Linked DNA regions of Homo sapiens: regions 1 and 2 are each linked to region 3. The links are contacts of gene promoters, found by promoter capture Hi-C in blood cells and fetal thymus (Javierre and others, 2016). All regions are on one chromosome and are shown on one strand. Each heading gives the region's core, a stretch centred on a gene start or on the middle of the fragment in contact. The rest is flanking DNA. Distances are from core to core; before and after follow the strand shown.

Region 1 (2,995 bases), core at 492-2,991, 170 kb before region 3:
TTCTGGGCACCGATGGGGAGGAGATCTTAAATCGATTTGAATAAAATCTAGACAGTGAATAATCCTGTTGAATGCTTTAGAACTGAATTTTTGAGATAAAGATGAACAAGGCAGGCTTGTGTGATGATAAAGAACGGGCCAACATGATGTGCTGCTTTACAGAGTGGATGTAAGTGAAAAATTCAAGGCTTGGAGCAGGCCGTGATTCCTCTACTTAACGTTTTACGATTTTGGCATCTTGCATTCTATAATATTTTAACCCAGTTTCATCTCGTTTCAGGCATGGTTTTCTAAAACTATGTCTATATCAGGTGAAAACATGAACTCTAAAGACTGTAACATGGTGCATTTTTCTTTTTAAAAAAGCTTGCTTTATGATGAAATTCTCTCAGTTGTGCTTCTAGGTGACATTTCCATTCAGAAATGTCTTGAAAATAAATGAAGATGTTACGAGAATTACAGTGGACAAAATGCTGCATCTGACCCATCCTGACTGGCTAATCTAGCCCAATTACTGATCTCATCTGTATTATCACACTCTCAGATGTGCTAGGTGCCTCCCCCAACCTCCCCACGGCACACACACAAATGCCTGGATTTTTTAAAATCAGAAATTCTCTTTGTTCTCCATCACACATTATTCCTGTTTAAGGTTTTCAACTTGAAAAACTTCAAGCCATCTTGGATTTTAAAGTAATGGTAGATTTTTCTTCTGGAACATTTATCTTATGTGGAGAAGCACTTACTGTAAATTGGTGAATACAGAGCTTACTCCCTTTACCTGATGCAATAGATTTGATGAAGTTTCTATATTCCAACTCAACATCACTATGGCTTTTTGCTTGTGTTGCTGCGTTTGTAAACATTCAATAAAAGTCTACTTGTCTATAACTCTTGGGATTAGAAATGCTTAATTCCTTGTATTTGTATACATCTACCTTGTATTTGTATACATCTACAATTCCTTGTATTTGTATACATCTACCATACTGGTGATTTAGGGGCACTGTGAGAGCAAGAATTATTTTTAAAATTATCAAAGAAAGGTCAAATTCTGTCCCTAATGATTTCCATATTTAGCTCACTTTATTTGGGGGCAAAAAATCAGCTTCAGAGCAGCCAAATGCCAGACTTGAAGCCCAGCTTCCCCTTTCCCTAGTGCTCCCCTGTGGCAAGTGACTTCACCTTTCTCAGCTTCATTCTACCCATCTTTCTCTTATCAATAATCATATCCAGCTTATAGATTTCTTGTGAGAGTTGAACAAGAAATAAATGTACATGTCTGGTGCATAATTTGTACTCAGTACCTGTTGCCTGCTATCCACAACAGCAATGAAAACAATAATAATACCTTGGAAATAGTCTGCATGGAGCATGTGCTGTAATTTTTGTTAGCCAAATAATGGGAAAACCCATTACTCAATCACTACACCTTTTATTATACAGTTAACATATGTAGATTAGCACACATGTGCATACACACATCCACACATACTGCACCTGAAATTTTTTTTTTAATTTTAATTTTTTAGAGCCTTTAAGTGAACCATGATGCACCTGAAATTTTTAAGGAGAGGTTCTAGAATTTAAATCCTTTTGTACATGTACACATATACTCGCAAGGTCAATACTTCCTCACATCTTCTGAAAGGTAGGAAGAAACATGGGCACATAACTTTGCTATATGGGGTACTGTCTCAAACTTGCAGATGTTTCTGGCCGACTGAACACCATCCTAACCTAGGGCACCCATGGTTTATAGCTTCTTGTTGATTGTGTCAGGAAGTGCTCAAGGCCAAGCCGACATTAGCCACAAGAAAGGAAGCACTTTGGAGAAAGCAGAAATGGGTTTGACTCCGGAGCAGCTTGGGGGTGCTTTATTTTGCCTCCCAGGTCTCACACATCAGGCTTTCCACAAAACCTGGTAGCACCATCACACAGCTGGGTATTTTGACACTGAGAGCAAAGTTCAGTAAAAGGTTTCGCTAATGTGTATGCGATGCCCTCCCAAGTATGGCATCCTCACATTTCAGTCTCTTACCCAGTTAGAGTTTCACAGACTGATGCTATAAACTGGTTTAATTATTTTTTTCATTTAAGCTAATGATTTTATTTTCCCTGGAATGACTACATTGTTTCTTTGTCCTGTACATACAATTTATATATCCTTCAAAAAGAGCTCATTTACAAGTATGCTTTTAAAACAGAAGCCAAATGAAAAGCATTTTAAAATTTTTTGTGCAAATCCTTGTACATTTTTAATTTGGGGAGTCATCTGCATCATTATAATGTATTCACTTACTAAAAAATATTTTAAGGGAAACCTTTGAGACCCCACAGTTGAGAATATTTTGTCATAAACCAGCATAAAGCCAAATGCTGTGAGTGCTAGTGGATTTTGGAAGGAGGCATAAGGCTTTTGATTTTTTTAGCCCTCTCTTAAGACCTGGAAAGGGACAGTCCTTACTGGGATTTGTGATGTATTCTGCAGGAGGATAATTTTGCCTCTGGGAAAGTCAGAGCCAGGCCAGAATCACTCCTGGGATTTTGAAGTCTGAAGTCACTTGTTTGGCTCTGCTCACTGGAGAACTCAAGAATGCTATTCATCGGCCAGTGTGAACAGTGGTTGAGAAATGACTTGCTGTAACAATCATTTCCAGAATTTTTTGAGATACAGAAATTCTTCTGCATTGCTTTTCAGACACTGGAATGGCACATTTTGGTGGGATTTTCGGGTGGAACTTAGGGAAAAAAAGGGGCAAGTCTATATTTTAATATTTCTATGACTGTTCCTTCTCTCAGAGAACTCTTGAGTGCCCTGTTAGTCTTTTGAGCAGGTTTTCTTGGAAAAAAAAAATTGTGCTATAATGCCAGCATGAGATCAGCTTTTGTTAAAATACCCAGGCAAAACCACCAAACATTGCTAAATCCTTTTGGAGAGGCTAGAGAGAAACTGAAGGAAGTTACAGTTCATTCCAAAATATTTAGATTAGAA
Region 2 (3,384 bases), core at 39-2,538, 230 kb before region 3:
ATGTGTATTTCTCCAGTGGACTCAATTCAGAATCACTTCTCATTCCTAAGGCAGCAATTCCATCTCTGTCCCAGATACTTGGGCTACGTAACCTGTGGCCAGCCTTTGATCCGCCCATGTGAAGCTGCAGGTCCATTTCCAAAGCCCAGGTGTCCTTTGCCTCCATTTCCTCTCTCTTGCCTGGAGCTACATTCCTCAACACGCACACTCCATCTGCTGCATCTGCTTACCTCCATCTCTCTTCCATGGCCACAGCTCCTTCTTATTTAATTTTTTTTCAAAAATCCATAAAGCATAATATCTCTCATTTAAGATAAACAGAATAAACACATTTTTTTGTCCAAACAAAAATTAGCTTAGCTGCCTTTCTTCACCTTACAATGTCATCAAAGCAAATTCTCAAAGACTGAGTGGCTCAAAGTACTTCGTAATGATTCTTTTCCTGATTTGTTCTGTTCATCATAACTCAGAGAAAATGCATTCCCAATAGTGTTTCCTCAACCTCCATTTACCATTTATTTAGAAAAAGCTCAACATTCTCTAAACCAGCTTGCAGTGCAGAGACTGTAGAAAGAGCTGGAAAGTTTGCCCGTGTGGAGAAAATCATTCCTTCTGCTCAAACTGCTATGGCATTCTCCAGTTTTCTAACAGAGCAGGATTAAAGAGGGTCTCTCCCAGGATTACACACTGCACCGCAGTGTGGGCTCTCCTCAGCGCCTGGTCATCCTATGCCCTCTGCAGGAGGACTCCGATTTGGCTCTACTGTATCGAGAGCTACCTGAAGTTATGCTCTTTCAATCTTTACAAAATCAGAACCTGATCTTGCGACACTGTTAATATTAGCTGTCATTAGCCCCAAAATTCCCATCTGTTTAAAGTTTAGGATTTGTTTTCATGCCACTAACTATCACTAAAAAAAAGTCTCTCTCTACTAAGAAACTCTGGTGCTTGGGAGACTGTCAAATTTGGGGGGGAAGTTCTGATAGGAATATTAATATTCTGATTTTAATTTACTTTAAGAAAAATTATTGGTATACATAATTAGTTACCTTCTTGTTTTTCTTTTGTTCTAGATCTTCATCCCAAGTCTGTATGTTTATTTGATCCCCCGTATTGAAAAGAAAACATTTGGAGCAGGCTAGATGAAAGCATAGAAAGAGCTGTGAGGAAAATAAACCAGATTGTAGGCCTAATTTTCTGCTACTTATTGTAGCTACTTACTGCAGCAGAAATTAGGCTACAACCTGGTTTATTTTCCCCACAGCTCTTTCTATGTTTTCAGCTAGCCTGCTCATGACATGATTTTTCAAGGCCACACAATAAGTAGCAGAAAATTAGCATGATCTGTAAAATAAAGAGGCTGGCCATGATGATACCTAAAATTTCTTCCAGTTCTGAATAGTATCACTTCATGCTTACTCCTAGGTCACCCCTCCCGGTTAGTATTTACTGCCTTTTTTTTTTTTTAATGTGTATTTTCTTTTTCTTTTTTTCTGAAACAGGCCCAGAAGATACACTGCTTTTTTTTTTTTTTTTTTTTTTTTTGAAGGAGTCTTACACGTCAGGGGTATTTCCTACCATGTCTTTTGTGGTTTTTGATGGTCACATGGATGGCTCTGTTGTATTTGCTTTATTCTCCTACACAGAGATCAATGCTTTTACATAGAGATCGCTCATGAAAGACAATGACATAGTTATTATGGTTCTATTTTTAAATTTCAGAAAAGGAGTTTTTTCACTGTCCCCTTCCCAAATTATTTATAACTTATATAAACAGTGTTTTCACTCTGTAGATTTTTTTTTTCAAATTCAGCATTAGTCTCTTAACAGGGATAATAGTTAATGCTATTCATCATCTAACAATGAAAACATTTATTGAGTACTTACTGTGTGTTGGAAATTCTGCTAGTTGCTATGATTACAAAGACAGACAAACCCTTGACCTTGTCAACTAAGGCTAAGGGGACATGTTCCTGTAGAAGTTGATGTGCAGCCAGGCACGGTGTCTCACACCTGTAATCCCAGCACCTTGGGAGGCCGAGGCAGATGGATTGCCTGAGCTCAGGAGTTCTAGACCTGCCTGGGCAACATGGTGAAATCCCGTCTGTACTAAAATACAAAAGATTAGACTGGCGTGGCGGCGTGCATCTGTAATCTCAGCTACTTGGGAGGCTGAGGCAGGAGAATTGCTGGAACCCGGGAGGCAGAGGTTGCAGTGAGCAGAGATTGCACCACTGCACTCCAGTCTGGGTGACAAGAGTGAGACCCTGTCTCAAAAAATAAATAAAAATAAGTAAAAATAAAAAATAAGTTAATGAGCAGCTCCCTCCTTTTTATGCCTTCTCTATCCCAAAACACTGAATCTATATTCACTGATATGAACAAATAACCTAAGGCAAAGAACATGACCTTTGTACATAAAATGTGTCTTCTGTTATGTACATGTGGCAAATGAACTTAATTCTTAACATGATTATCTCAGCTTCATGTAAGCTGCATGTGCAGAGGTGGGCAGGGATTGGGCCACACAATTCCAGGATGCTTTCTAACTCTAACACATCTGTGGTTTGGGATTATAGTCCAATTATATAGTGCTTTTAATAGTTGTTAAGAGGTAGAATTTTATTTCTTTATAAGGACCAGTAGGAATGAAGCAAAATCTACTAAAGCTTCATCAAAGGAAAATGTATTTACATGCCCAGCCATGTCTGTTTTAGATCCATAGTGGGAGACTGACTACTAACTGTTTGAGGCCACAAAATCAGTGGAAAGAAAACTCACTTCATTAAAATGGGCACATGCATTCAAAAATGAATCTCATATCTGGCTGTGAAGATCATCATTATCTTTCAAAAACCATGGTGAAATAAAGTTGAATGAATTCACCACAGACCTGAACTATAAGAAATGTTAAAGAAATTTCTTCAGGCAGGAAGAAAATGATATCACTTAGAAATATGTATCTACACAAAGGAATAAAGAGCTCCAGAAATGATAACCACAAAGATGCATATTTCATTTGCAGATTTCATTAGCAGGTCTGAGGCAGCAAATGAAGAAATGAAGAAGAGAGATCTGGTAGAAACAGATGGATTGATCATTCAGAGAAGGAACAGCTGCCAACTCTACACTCAGGGAAGAGAACCAGAAAGATAAAATTTATTGCAAGATTTATTAGTAAGGGTTCTCCAGAGAAACAGAACCAATACGATGGATGGATAGATAGATGATAGATAGATGATAGATAGATAGATAGATAGACAGATAGATACATAGATAGATACATAGACAGAGATAAATATTTGTATCTCTATCTCCAGAAAGTGACCTATTACAAGGAATTGCTGAGACCTCCCCACAATCTGCTGTCTGCAAGGTGGAGAT
Region 3 (3,165 bases), core at 395-2,894:
AACTCATAAGTCAGACTATTAGATATAATCACATGTGGAATTTGCCTTATTCTTTCTCTTTCTCCCCCTCTCCCTCCTCAGCATCCTCTACTCACAACACCTTCTGAAGGAGCCTCAGTCCTGCCATGACTGGCAGAACCTATCACGAGCATCGCCGGCATCCATGCCAACAGCTCACCTGCAAGGCTTTCAACTCTGCTGACCTTCAGAGTGTCAGAGCAGTGCCGAAGCCCAGGACATGGCTGTCATCCCTTATTCCTCCTAGCTCAAATCACCCTCAATATCCTGATAGGAACCAAATACCAGGCCATCCCGCCATTTCAGTCTCTGTCCCAAGGACTCCTCATTAAATTCCATCATCATCCTTCAGCTAACAACCAAAAGCCTTCCTGAAACACAGCCTCATGCAAATAGGTACTGAGAAAACTTCCTAGCCCCTAGTTCTGCAAACACTCACCTACGCAGTTTAGAATCAGCTAGGTTACGTGCCTGTGCATTTATATATGCAGATAAATAATACAGCAGCTATACTACAAGTAGGTGTCTCTTCAGCCTGTTTACTTTAATTTTTACATATTAGGCTCATCTCTGAATGCCCAAAAGAGGATGTAACTGATATATTCTCCTGGCAAAAGAGTCAGGAGTCATTTCCCAGCTGAGGGGATGGGTTGATGCTCTTCCATTTTCTCTTAACCCTGTGCAAATGGTGCTGGGCCATAAGAGGACATCTGGGATTCAACTCCCACTGTGTATGGCTAAGAATCAGAACAAAGTATGATGTCCACAGAGGACCTTGAGCTCACAGGCTCCATTCCAGAGAGTAATACAGGGATAGTAAACCACTGGAAGCAAAGACTCCCTGTGGAATAGCTGCAGTCATCCCCCATGCTGGCCCAGCCACCTGAGAAGAGACAGTCTTGTTAGGTTGACTTAACTATTGGTCACCTGAATTTAATTTGGCTTACTGAATTATGGATGAAGGAGACAATAATCCCCAAGAGTTGGCCAATCTTTGTCATCAGGGGTTTTCTTATGTTGGTGAGAGTGTTCTAGTACCTTAATAGGCAGCTTGAGTTTGATGCATGAGTCATAATGAATCAGATGTACCAGAGTTGTTGTTTTGATTCAGCTCAGCAGTTATGTCTTTGAATCTGAGTCTCAGATGGGCACCTGAATAGACTCATCACAAAGCTTCATTGCAAATTATACAGTGCAGGGAAGCTCAACAAATTATTCTGATTGTTTCCAGAAAGAAAAAGGAAGGCAGGATTATACAGCATTTAGTGTCACCAATTAACAAGGTCATGGGGCTGAACCACTCATTCCAAAAACTTAATATCTACAAACTCAAGCACAAGGAGCCTCTTTTAATTATTTGGAAACTGTGGGCTGCAGGGAAAGCGAGTGCTCTCAGCCTTGTGATCTGAGCAAGGTTCAGGAGCTGGAGTGGGTTTGGCTGAGTCACCACTGGCTGCATGACCCCACACACATCACCTGACCTCCACATGCTTCAGCTGGCCCGGCTGTAGAGATGAGAAAATGCAGCCGGAAGGCCCCAAGGGGCAAAAACAGCCTTCTGCACACAGCTGCCCTGGGGCAGCTTCCTGCGGCACAGTTTAGCTCTATCAGAGGCAGGGGGACCCTAGTCTGGGCCACCAAAGCAGCCTTACCTAAAAGCCACCTTTGGGAAAGGGCCTGTTTCATGCCGCAAGTGTAGGAGTATAAGTAAGTAAAACCTTTTTTAAGCCTTGAAAATACTCATATGTTTTGGTTGCATGATTTCATTTGAATGAATTTATTCTTAGTCAGGAATCAGAGGCGTACACAAATATGTATGTTCAATCATGCTCATCATAGTGTTAACTTTAGTAACGAAAAACTGAAAATTATCTAAATGTTCAACTGTAAAGCATTGTACAACAAACTATGGTACATTTTTATTTTGGAAGGTTGTATGGCCATTAAAAAATCACTAGAACAGAATAATCAATGACCTGGGAAAATGTCCACCGTAGGATAGTATATAGAGAAGGACCGTAAAACAACATTGTTAGAATAATCCAATTTGTTTTACACTATATGTACTCCCAGGTGGATAGACAAAAGCCTGGAAGGTGAGACAAGAAATTATTAATGATGTTTAATCTCTGCGTTTGGGGATTATCAGCTCTTTTTAAAATTTATGGTGCTTGCCTGTATGTTCCAATATTTTCTATCACAATGGTCATGTGTTCTTTTTGCCATAAAAATCAATTTTGAAATTCCCCGAGTTGCTGTTAACTTGGCCTGTCTGTTGCATATGGGGCCAAACTACACGCCTACCTGTGGAGCAAATGAATACAGTGACTCATCTGTGAGCTGAGGCTTGAGCAATTCCAGCCCAGGAGGCTCTCCGGCCTGGGAACAGAGTGGGATTTTTTGTCTGAGGAGGCTGAGTCTGGAAGAAGGATGACTCTGTGGGTGGTTTCCTAGATCCTCAATGCACGTGGCTTCCGGCCTTGACTCCTCCCTTAAATTCTGGGTTGCTGGCCAAGGCTGAAGAACAAATTTGCCTCAGCAGCCAACTCCTCTATGTAAGCCTGACATTTACTCTGTATCTACATAATATCTATTAAGCAACACCTGATCCTGTTCACCAGGATGTATGTTCCCAGGGAAACCTTCCTTTCAAAGTTAAGCAGGCATTCTTGGTAAGTAGCCCTAACACCTGGGAATCATGCAGTTAACTTTCCAGGCCTCAATCCTACATGAGTGTCCTGGGTTATAATAGCATGGCTGGATGGGTGGTGATCTCACCATTTTAGCCAGTGGCTCATCCTGCATGGGAAGAAAAGTTTTAAAATGGCACAGCTTCCTTTGAGAAGAGAGCCATCTGCTCCATAATATATGGGGAAGGAAAATGGTGCTTTATGAGACAATCAGAGCAAATTGGTACATCATCATGGAGCTTTCAAGGTGATATTTTCTAAAACAACATAGCCATTTTTTATTCCTCTTACCAAAGCCAAGGGGCAGTCGATAATCTCAACATTTCTGCTCTCTGCTTCAGGTGTAGGCTGTCATTGGCTTGCTTAGGTCAATAGTGGACACCAGCCTTCCCTGAGCTGACTTATTGAAGATGGCCCAAGGGCCTGGCAGGCAGTCTGAAGTACAATCTAACATTGT

What was found. The method cuts DNA at HindIII sites, captures the fragments that hold promoters and counts their contacts. A CHiCAGO score of 5 or more calls a contact.
Region 1: a fragment that was not itself captured here is called in contact with the fragment with the promoter of ITPR2-AS2 in region 3 in 1 of 17 cell types (M2 macrophages); the score reaches 5.3 in M2 macrophages.
Region 2: a fragment that was not itself captured here is called in contact with the fragment with the promoter of ITPR2-AS2 in region 3 in 2 of 17 cell types (M2 macrophages and M1 macrophages); the score reaches 7.2 in M2 macrophages.

What each region holds. Positions count from the first base shown.
Region 1 is chr12:26,148,349-26,151,343 of GRCh38, forward strand. It overlaps a transcript of SSPN not described here. Among named protein-coding and RNA genes, the nearest start is that of BHLHE41, 25 kb to the left of the region's middle. The HindIII fragment of the contact is 2,754 bases long and covers 365-2,995 here.
Region 2 is chr12:26,091,305-26,094,688 of GRCh38, forward strand. No RefSeq gene overlaps it. Among named protein-coding and RNA genes, the nearest start is that of BHLHE41, 32 kb to the right of the region's middle. The HindIII fragment of the contact is 2,758 bases long and covers 1-2,667 here.
Region 3 is chr12:26,317,280-26,320,444 of GRCh38, forward strand. It overlaps ITPR2-AS2 (ITPR2 antisense RNA 2), which reads left to right and starts at 1,645. Exons shown (of 6, transcript NR_199072.1): 1 at 1,645-1,725. RefSeq lists an enhancer at 1,338-1,387. The HindIII fragment of the contact is 7,262 bases long and covers 1,190-3,165 here.